Regions from separate parts of the Homo sapiens genome. Here all the other regions are linked to region 2. The links are contacts of gene promoters, found by promoter capture Hi-C in blood cells and fetal thymus (Javierre and others, 2016). All regions are on one chromosome and are shown on one strand. The core of a region is centred on a gene start or on the middle of the fragment in contact, and the rest is flanking DNA. Distances in the headings are between cores, read along the strand shown. Region 1 overlaps MTMR3 (myotubularin related protein 3). Region 2 holds the start of CABP7 (calcium binding protein 7). Region 3 overlaps MTMR3 (myotubularin related protein 3).

What was found. The method cuts DNA at HindIII sites, captures the fragments that hold promoters and counts their contacts. A CHiCAGO score of 5 or more calls a contact.
Region 1: a fragment that was not itself captured here is called in contact with the fragment with the promoter of CABP7 in region 2 in 3 of 17 cell types (M0 macrophages, erythroblasts and neutrophils); the score reaches 7.4 in M0 macrophages.
Region 3: a contact is called between a fragment that was not itself captured here and the fragment with the promoter of CABP7 in region 2, in 1 of 17 cell types (erythroblasts). The highest score is 6.0, in erythroblasts.

What each region holds. Positions count from the first base shown.
Region 1 is chr22:29,998,412-30,001,293 of GRCh38, reverse strand. It overlaps MTMR3 (myotubularin related protein 3), which reads right to left. Exons shown (of 20, transcript NM_021090.4): 8 at 2,437-2,533. Among named protein-coding and RNA genes, the nearest start is that of MIR6818, 7.2 kb to the left of the region's middle. The HindIII fragment of the contact is 4,824 bases long and covers 1-2,882 here.
Region 2 is chr22:29,718,742-29,721,617 of GRCh38, reverse strand. It overlaps CABP7 (calcium binding protein 7), which reads right to left and starts at 1,615. Exons shown (of 5, transcript NM_182527.3): 1 at 1,085-1,615. The coding sequence starts at 1,193. CABP7-DT (CABP7 divergent transcript) reads left to right here and starts at 1,715. Exons shown (of 3, transcript NR_186695.1): 1 at 1,715-2,070. RefSeq lists an enhancer at 1-306. The HindIII fragment of the contact is 23,163 bases long and covers 1-2,876 here.
Region 3 is chr22:30,016,039-30,018,864 of GRCh38, reverse strand. It overlaps MTMR3 (myotubularin related protein 3), which reads right to left. Exons shown (of 20, transcript NM_021090.4): 15 at 2,167-2,337; 16 at 793-938. HORMAD2-AS1 (HORMAD2 and MTMR3 antisense RNA 1) reads left to right here. Exons shown (of 5, transcript NR_110541.2): 4 at 136-248. Among named protein-coding and RNA genes, the nearest start is that of MIR6818, 10 kb to the right of the region's middle. The HindIII fragment of the contact is 434 bases long and covers 1,323-1,756 here.

The sequences.
Region 1 (2,882 bases), core at 283-2,782, 280 kb before region 2:
TCAGTCTCCTGAGTAGCTGGGACTACAGGCGCCCGCCACCACGCTGGCTAATTTTTTTGTATTTTTAGTAGAGACGGGGTTTCACTGTGTTAGCCAGGATGGTCTCGATCTCCTGAGCTCGTGATCCACCCGCCTCGGCCTCCCAAAGTGCTGGGATTAGAGGAATGAGCCACCATGCCTGGCCAAATTTTTAAGAAATTTTCTGTAGAGATGAGGTCTCACTATGTTGCCCAGCCTAGTCTCAAACTCCTGGGCTTAATCAATCCTCTATCTTGGCCTCTCAAGAAGTTAATTTTTAAAAGCCGAATTGGGGATTATTTTCCAACAAGTCTGTCTTAATTCACAGTTTTTTTTTACTTGATCTAATTTTCTAAACATTCTGTTCATTGTCCTATAGGTACTACACTCCCAGTAGTCAGCTCTTCAGTATGCACTACCTACTCACTTGTGGATAAACAATTTCCAGTATAGGTTACACTCAGGAAAGCCTAATGCAGCCACAGGCTCTCTGAGGCCGCCCCCTCATCCAGCATTCACCCTCCTTCTTTGCTTTGACTCATCACTGAGAACAGGCAAAAGTATAAAAAGTCTGCAGCTCCAACTCTTCAAAACACCCTGGGTTCTCAACTCCCTGGAGAAGGTCCACATTAAGAACTGTGTATAGCAATTAGCTATAGCTTTTCCAGTGAAAACTCTGACGGCTAGCCACAAACAGACCAGGAAAATGCCCGTCATAATTTGAGACAGCTAAGAGGACCGCAGAATGATTAATGATGCAGGGAAACGTAGGAGAAGGATATATATATTTTTTTTTTTTATTTTTTTTATTTTTTAAGACAAAGTCTCGCTCGGTTGCCCAGGCTGGAGTGCAGTGGCACAATCTCAGCTCACTGCAAGCTCCGCTTCCCAGGTTCATGCCATTCTCCCGCCTCAGCCTCCCCAGTAGCTGGGACTACAGCCACCTGCAACCATGCCCGGGTAATTTTTTGTATTTTTAGTAGAGACGGGGTTTCACCGTGTTAGCCAGGATGGTCTCGATCTCCTGACCTCATGATCCTCCTGCCTCAGCCTCCCAAAGTGCTGGGATTACAGGCGTGAGCCACCGCGCCTGGCCAAGAAGGATATAGTTAAAGATTTAAGATATTTAACTATCATGGACAATTTTGTTTTATAGAAATTTGGATCACCAAAATCATAGTAGTTAACTGTCCTCCCCCACCAACGCACTTACACATTTTAAGGAACTGGGTAATGGCTAAATGGTTACATTAATTTTTTTTTTGCGACAGAGTCTCACTCTATCACCCAGGTTGGAATATAGTGGTGCAATCTCAGCTCACTACAACCTCCACCTCCCAGGTTCAAGCAATTCTCCTGCCTCAGCCTCCCAAGTTGCTGGGACTACAGGCATGCACCACCACGCCCAGCTAATTTTTGTATTTTTAGTAGAGACAGTGTTTCGCCATGTTGGCTGGGCTGGTCTCGAACTCCTGACCTCAGCTGATCTGCCTTGGCCTCCCAAAGTGCTGGGATTGCAGGTGTGAGCCACCATGTCCAGCCAAATAAAGGTTACATTAATATTTAATGGTTAAATGATCATAGCAGTGAAGTTGGTTTTAGATCAATATATTAAAGGACAGAATAATACAGACTGAGCATCTTTAATCCAAAAATCTGAAATGCTCCAAAATCCAAAACTTTGAGTGCTGACATAATGCCACAAGTGGAAAATTCTACACTTGACCTCATGTGATGGGTCACAGTCAAGTCACAGTCAAAACTTTTCGTAAAAAACATCATGCATGAAATTATTTAAAATATTGTACAAAATTACCTTCCAGCTGTATAATGTGTATATGAGACAAATAATTTTGTGTTTAGACTTGGGTCCCAGGCCCAAGATAATCTCATTATGTTCATGCAAATATTCCAAAACCTGAAAAAAATCCAAAATCTGAAATATTTACAGTCCCAAGAATTTCAGATAAGGGATACTCAACTGTACTTATGTCTATTTCACACCACCTGGAGTAAAATTACAGTCATAAAAACTAGTTCATAAATGTTCTGTCACTGCTTATGAGACCACTGATCCTCTCTCTAATGTGATGCCAAGTGGTGATGAGAAAAATGGTAACTGCCTGCCTACAGGCAAATACAATATTATTTAGACATGCATGTACCAGAAAAAACAGAGGCCTAGAGGGGGTAAAAGGGAAGGTTCTAGGATCCTGTTAAGTAAGGATCACTTTCCACTCCAATGATAGCAACGGGAACAGAAGATTCAATAAATACTCTGAAGATCATGCCTTTAGATTTAATAAATAAAACCATTTCAAATAAAAAGTCTAAGTTCAAATGTTCTGCCACATGAGAATTGCGGTTTCTGCAAAGGCACTGGCTGTGAAACAGTCCACAGGGACCCATATAACTCACTTGTACTTCTCATTGATGTTGGAAATCCTCCAGGCGTTGTTCATATCAAAACCCATCCTCTCCACCTCGTTTTTAAACCTTGAAGTTACATGCTCCCCTAGAGGCCAAAGATAAACAGCAGAAAGGAAGAAATGAATACCATTTTGCAAAACAGGTGGAATAAAAACAAAGAAATATACATATGTTACATATATGTAAATATATATATATTTTTTGAGACAGGATTCCACTCTGTCACATAGGCCGGAGTGCAGTGGTGTGATCTCAGCTCACTGAAACTTCCGCCTCCCAGGTTCAAGTGATTCTTGTGCCTCAGCCACCCAAATAGCTGGGATTACAGGTGCATGCCACCATGACTGGCTAATTTTTGCACTTTCAGTAGAGATGGGGTTTTACCACATGGGCCAGGCTGGTCTCGAACTCCTGGCCTCATGTGATCTGCCCGC
Region 2 (2,876 bases), core at 366-2,865:
CCTCCCTGACTGTGCTGGTCTTGGCTGCACCCTCCCAGGCCCTAATGAGCCTCCAGATCTCAGAGACCCCTGGATCCAAGGTACCCCGAGAGGCCCATCCTCTGGGTGAGCTCAGCCCCTTGCAACAGCAGACATGCAGATCCCAGGAGGCCGTGACCCCCATCAGCCCAGATCCCCCACTCCACTCCATATGGGGGCTCCAGGAGGTCTGGGGGGAGGGGAAACCTCAGCACCTCCCCCAGCCCAGCAGGGAAGGAGCTGGGCGGGCCCCAGGGGTCTCACTGCTCCTCAGGACACACTGTCCCGGACCCCTGCCCCTGCCCTCTGCTCTGACCTCGCCCAGCCAGCGGCCTGCCATCCCCCTGCGAGTCTGAGAGGCAGGGGGAACGGGGTGGGGGCGGGTTTGGGTCCTGGCCTCTCTGCCTTTCCCTTCCAGGCTTGGCTATCGCGACTTAGCCGCCCAGTCCGGCCACTTGTTGTCGCCACCGCCTCCCGGGCCGCCTTCCCGGCGCGCCGGGCTGGGGGTCCCCGCAGGGCTGCAGGGAAGGGGCTACGGCCGCAGGTGGGGACGGGGGCGGCCCCGCAGCGGGCAAGAGCAGGGCAGTCGCCCTCTCCCCTTCTGCTGCTGCCCGAGCAGATTGAATTTTTAAAGCGACACGAGCGGAATGTCAATGCGAGCAGAGAGCCGCGGGCGGGCGCCGCGGAGGGGATCAGGATGCGGGTGCTCCGGCCGGGCCGGCGCTGGGGGCTCAGCGCGGACCCCCGCCCCAGTCCGCCGCGTTGCCGCACCGTCACCGCCGACTGCGCGGCCCCGTGACCCCGCTGCGGGGCCCGGCAAGTTTCCGCAGCGCTGGGGACCACGCGGGCAGGGGCTGGGCCGCTCTCCGCCTGAGCGACCCCCACCGCGGCGCCCCGGGGTGCGGACAGGTCTTGCCGCGGGGCACAGCTGCTAGCTGGGGCGCCCACCTGGCAACCGGCACCTGCGGACCGCCCCCCGCCCCCCGCCCCCGCGCCCCTGGCCCGCGCTTCACCTGGGCGCACAGGTAGGAGGGCCGCCGGGGCGGGGATCCCGGCGGACACTCACCCTCCAGCTCGTCCTCCGGGATGTCCACCGGGCGCTGCTCCGACAGCAGGTTGGGCACGGTGTAGATGCCCCGGTACATCAACGCCGCCGTCACCGGGTGGAACGGCATCTTGGAGGCTCCGCGCCCGCCCGCCCGCCGCAAACTTTGAGGCCGGGGCTCATGGGCCGGTGGCGGCCCCGGGGGCGGCTGGAGCGGGCGGGGCGCGCGGCTGCGGAGGGCGGCGGCGGCAGCGGCGAGGCTGGGGACGCCCCTCCGGGGGCCTAGCGCCCCCGCGCCCCGGGCCGCCGGGCCATGCCGCCCGCTCCCTCGTCGGGCTCCCAGCCGGGGCCCCGCAGGGGCAGCGGGGGCGGCGCCGCTCTGGCCTTTCCGAGAGCTCCGGCTGCCTCGCGCGGTGCCCGCCGCGCCCGCTCCTCGGTGCCCCGCGCGCTCCGCGCTGCTCGCCGCCCGCTAGTCCGCTCGCCGGCGCGGCCGCTACCGGCCCGGCGCTCAGGCTGTAGCCGCCTCTCCGCTCGCTCGCTCGCTCGTTCTGTGCCGCGCTGGCTGCGCTCCCCGCCTCCCCCGCCAGCCGCCCGCCCGCCCCCTCCGCGCTCCCCACCCCCAGCCCGCCCCTTCCCGCCGCCGGCCCCTGAGCGGCCGCCCCAAACCTGCCCGGGGCTCCTTCTCCCCTTCGGCCCCGATTCCCCTTTCCCACTAGGGCTCCCCTCTGTTCACTGGCTCTCCTCACCCTAAGTCTGCAGCCACCAGGACCAGGGAGGGGGTGGGTTGCGGGGGTCCTCCTTCCTGCCCCTTGGCTCACCTTCCCCCATCCACGCACCAGGAGCGGAGAGCCCGGAACTAAGAACTGTAGACCCAGAGAGGTGAGACTGGCCCCAAGCACCTGGGTCCTCAAGAAGAGTCACCGTTTCCGTGCCAGGAGGATCCAAGGTGGGGAAACTGAGGCTGAGAGAGAAGGACGTTGACCAAGGTCACAGGGCAGGAGCAGCAGGTAAGAGCTGGGTACACGTCTGGGGTAGGCTTCCTGCCCTGCCTGTGACTGACACCCTGCCGCTGACCTTGCTCCCCACAATGGGGCCCCAGTCCCGGACCCTTCCCAAGCCCCTACCTTTCAGCTTGCAGAAGAGGAGCCAAAGTGTCTCATGGCCCCCAGGGCAGTTCGGGACAGAGACATGGCCCGGTGCCTGTGGGGTCTGGTGTGAGGGCCTGCCAGTTCACATGGCTGCAGCTCAGACCTAATGTATGTGCAGGGCTTCCCCAGGCCCCAGGGCACGTCGGCACCCCAGAGCTGGGGTGGGGGCAGGTGTTTGAGGGAGCAGCCTGCGTGTGCATATGTCTGCTATCCATGAGGGTGTGTATGTGCCACTGGGCACGTGCGCAGGTGTCTGTGACTCCATATGCAGATGGACAAATGTCGGGAGTGTGTGGCCACCTGTGTGTGCCAAGGTTGTACGCTGGCAGGTCGGGGGAGGTGTGCAGGCCCTGGGGCTGGGAGTGGTGTGGGCATATGGTGCACAGATGTGCATGGGAGGGGGTGACCTTCTGGCCTGGCTGTGGCCCCATCTCTGGGTGCTTCCCTGAATCCCCCTACTGGGACCACCTCCCTGCCCCCTTTGGCCCAATCAGCTAAAGGTCCCAGCAGGAACGCTGATTGCACAGCCCTGCCCGGTCCTGCCCTGCCCTTCCCAAGCTGATTACACTTTTCTGCTTGTTTCTGTTTTTGTTACTGATTAATCGCAGCCTTGTCTCAGGGTCTGGGGAGAAGGGGCTCAGTGAGAGATGCTAGCCCCAGCCAAG
Region 3 (2,826 bases), core at 290-2,789, 300 kb before region 2:
GGCAAAGTAGCACTGGTGTTTCTTGATATTACAGTATTTTAAATTAATGTATTATCTATCAGTCTGAATTTAATAAAGCTAATTCTCAAGTGACAAAGCCAAATTTTCTTTTCTTTTTTTTTTTTCCTGAGACAGGTCTTGCCCTGTCATCCAGGCTGGAGTGCAATGGATCTTGGATCACTGCAACCTCCACCTTCCAGGCTCAAGTGATCCTCCTGCCTCAACCTCCCAAGTAGCTGGGACTACAGGTATGTGCCACCACGCTTGGTTAGTTTTTGCATTTTGGGTAGAAACAGAGTTTCAACACATTGCCCAGGCTGGTCTGGAACTCCTGGGCTCAAGCGATCCTCCCACCTTGGCCTCCCAAAGTGCTGGGATTACAGGCATGAGCCACCAAGCCTGGCCCCAAAGCAAAATTTTCTGTCATCTGACAGCATCTGCCTTTTAAGCCTCAGAAGACAAATCATGGCAAATAGGCAGGAGCACAGAGCACTGGGGAAAACACAAACCAGGGGGTCACAGAAAAACTGGAGGATTTGCTCTATCACTGAGGAGCGGCTCAGTGTATGCAAAACAACATGAAGCAACAGGGCCTAACTCACTCCCAGAAACAAGGATCTTACAGCCTCGTAGCTCAGAAATCCCTATAACTTCCCTGAAAAAACTGCAGAGACCTAAGAAAGATACTGTGGAGCCAGATACCATCATGATCTCTGACCATCCCTGCACACGTCCCAACACAGGAATACACCCACACAGGCTGTCAGGCCTGTGGCATCACCCTGGGCTCACCGGCTCAGGGGGGGATCATCAGGGCTGGTGCCTGGGGCTGGGTATGGTGCACAGCTGTCGTCCACAGGGGTGGTTGGGGATGGGCAGGGCAGGTACACTGCACTCCACAGCATCAGGTTACGCACATGGCACACAGGGTACAGCACCTGAGGAGGGGGGAGGACACAGGTTTAAATATGCCCCAATAAGTCTTCTAGGATGTCTGGAAATGAGGATCAAGAGCAAGCACCCAGCTGGAATACCCAACAGGGCTGACAGGATCTCCACAAAGAAGCAGCACCAATGGATACAGGTCTATCCCAAGAGGACCAATACAGGACTAGACATTTTATATAGCCAACATTTTTCACCTAAGAGCCACTTGAGAGCATGAAAATATAAAATATTTTTTAGATCCCTTTCTCATTATAGTTATTTCTTAGGTCACCTTCAATGTCTGACTTTCATCAGCTTGATTTGTTGCTTTTACTGCCTAAGAAAGTGAGTCATTCTGTTAGATGGTGATTGTCCATCCTGCTGGCACAAAAGCTTGGCTTCAAGAAACACTGTCAAACCCATTTTATGGGATCATTTAAATTAATCATGTGAAAAGAAGGAAATTTTCCTGCTGTATTGTTACTTCCCCAGAAGGCACACTGAAGGGGAGAGACAAGCAGTCAGCTTAAATCTTTTCTGTGATTACTTAAATGTAATGAGAACCATATTAATAGTCCAGGAAATCAGTATGAACTCTGATTAGCCTCCTTTTGACTTCTTTAGGGTCTAAGATGCATTCTGACAAAGCTAGTATTACTATGAAACTGACACATAGGTCTATGTGCCTCCTTTTCTCTGCTTAACAGAAGGTATTCATTCCTTCGGGGAACAAAGTCTTAAAGGGCCTGCCAGCTCTTCATGTGAGCAGAGAATCAGACAGACACACATACCAATGTCAAACACAGTTTACTGTTCTGAGACAGAAGCTTTGGTGGGTATCATTGCTTATTGACACTGGGAGGGTGCTGGGGGCCTGGTGGCAGCTCATTCTGAGCTATCAGTGCATCAGGAAGCAACTTAAGTGCCTCTCCCGTAAGACAGAATATGCTAGAAATAAGCTCTGGAGGCAGTGCCAAAAAAGATTCATGTCTAGGGTGGCAAAGTAGAGATCTGTGTTAAACCAAACCACCCTCAGCAAGTAGTCATCAGAAACAGATCAGAGCACCATCAGAAGCAGGCCTTCCTCAGGACAGAATCATGGGGGAAAAATGGAACCAGTCCATCCAGAGACAGTAGAGATGTCTTCACAAAAACAGTCACTACTCAAAAAGGCTCTCATATGTAACCAACCCCAAATTCCTTCTGCTGACCACAGTGGAAAGGCTGAAGGATACATACGGCTTCTGACTGAGAGGAATACAGTAGGTTTTTGAAAGCCTTGTTGCCTGCCCGAAGAAGTGACCACACGGAACATGTCCGTTCCTGAGTATGCTTTTCCCCTCTCTCCTTGGCGTTGTTGCACAGGAATGTTCCAAACAGGCAGGAATAGGTATGCTGCACCAGTTTCACCTATGGAAGTCCAATGAAGCACAAATTAAGCAATCAGGCATGCACACTCTGATAAGTCAGCTCAGCTGAGCCACCTTATCCTAACATCCCTGAGAACACTTCAATTTACTCTGTCAGGACGGGGAACCCAGTAAGCCATGCAGTAGCCTCCTCCTCCTCACACCACCAATTCCAGGACCCAACAACCTGAGTCAGACAGGTTGTTGGTGCCCCTATTCCTCTTAGCTTCCGTGATAAATAGTCTGAGATTGTGAATTAACAGCCACTCTCACAAGCGCCACAGCATATGAACTGGGTGCAGGAGCACGTCAGTGTACAACTCAAGTCTGAGCTGACAGTATGTTTGTAAAACTACTTGTTCATTCTACAAATTATTGAGCATTTCACATGGCCCAAACATGACTAAGGTGCTGGGCATGTAGCAATGACCAGCAAATTCTTCTGCCCTGATGGAGCTTGCTCTAGTCATAGCTGAAGAGTGACCAGTGC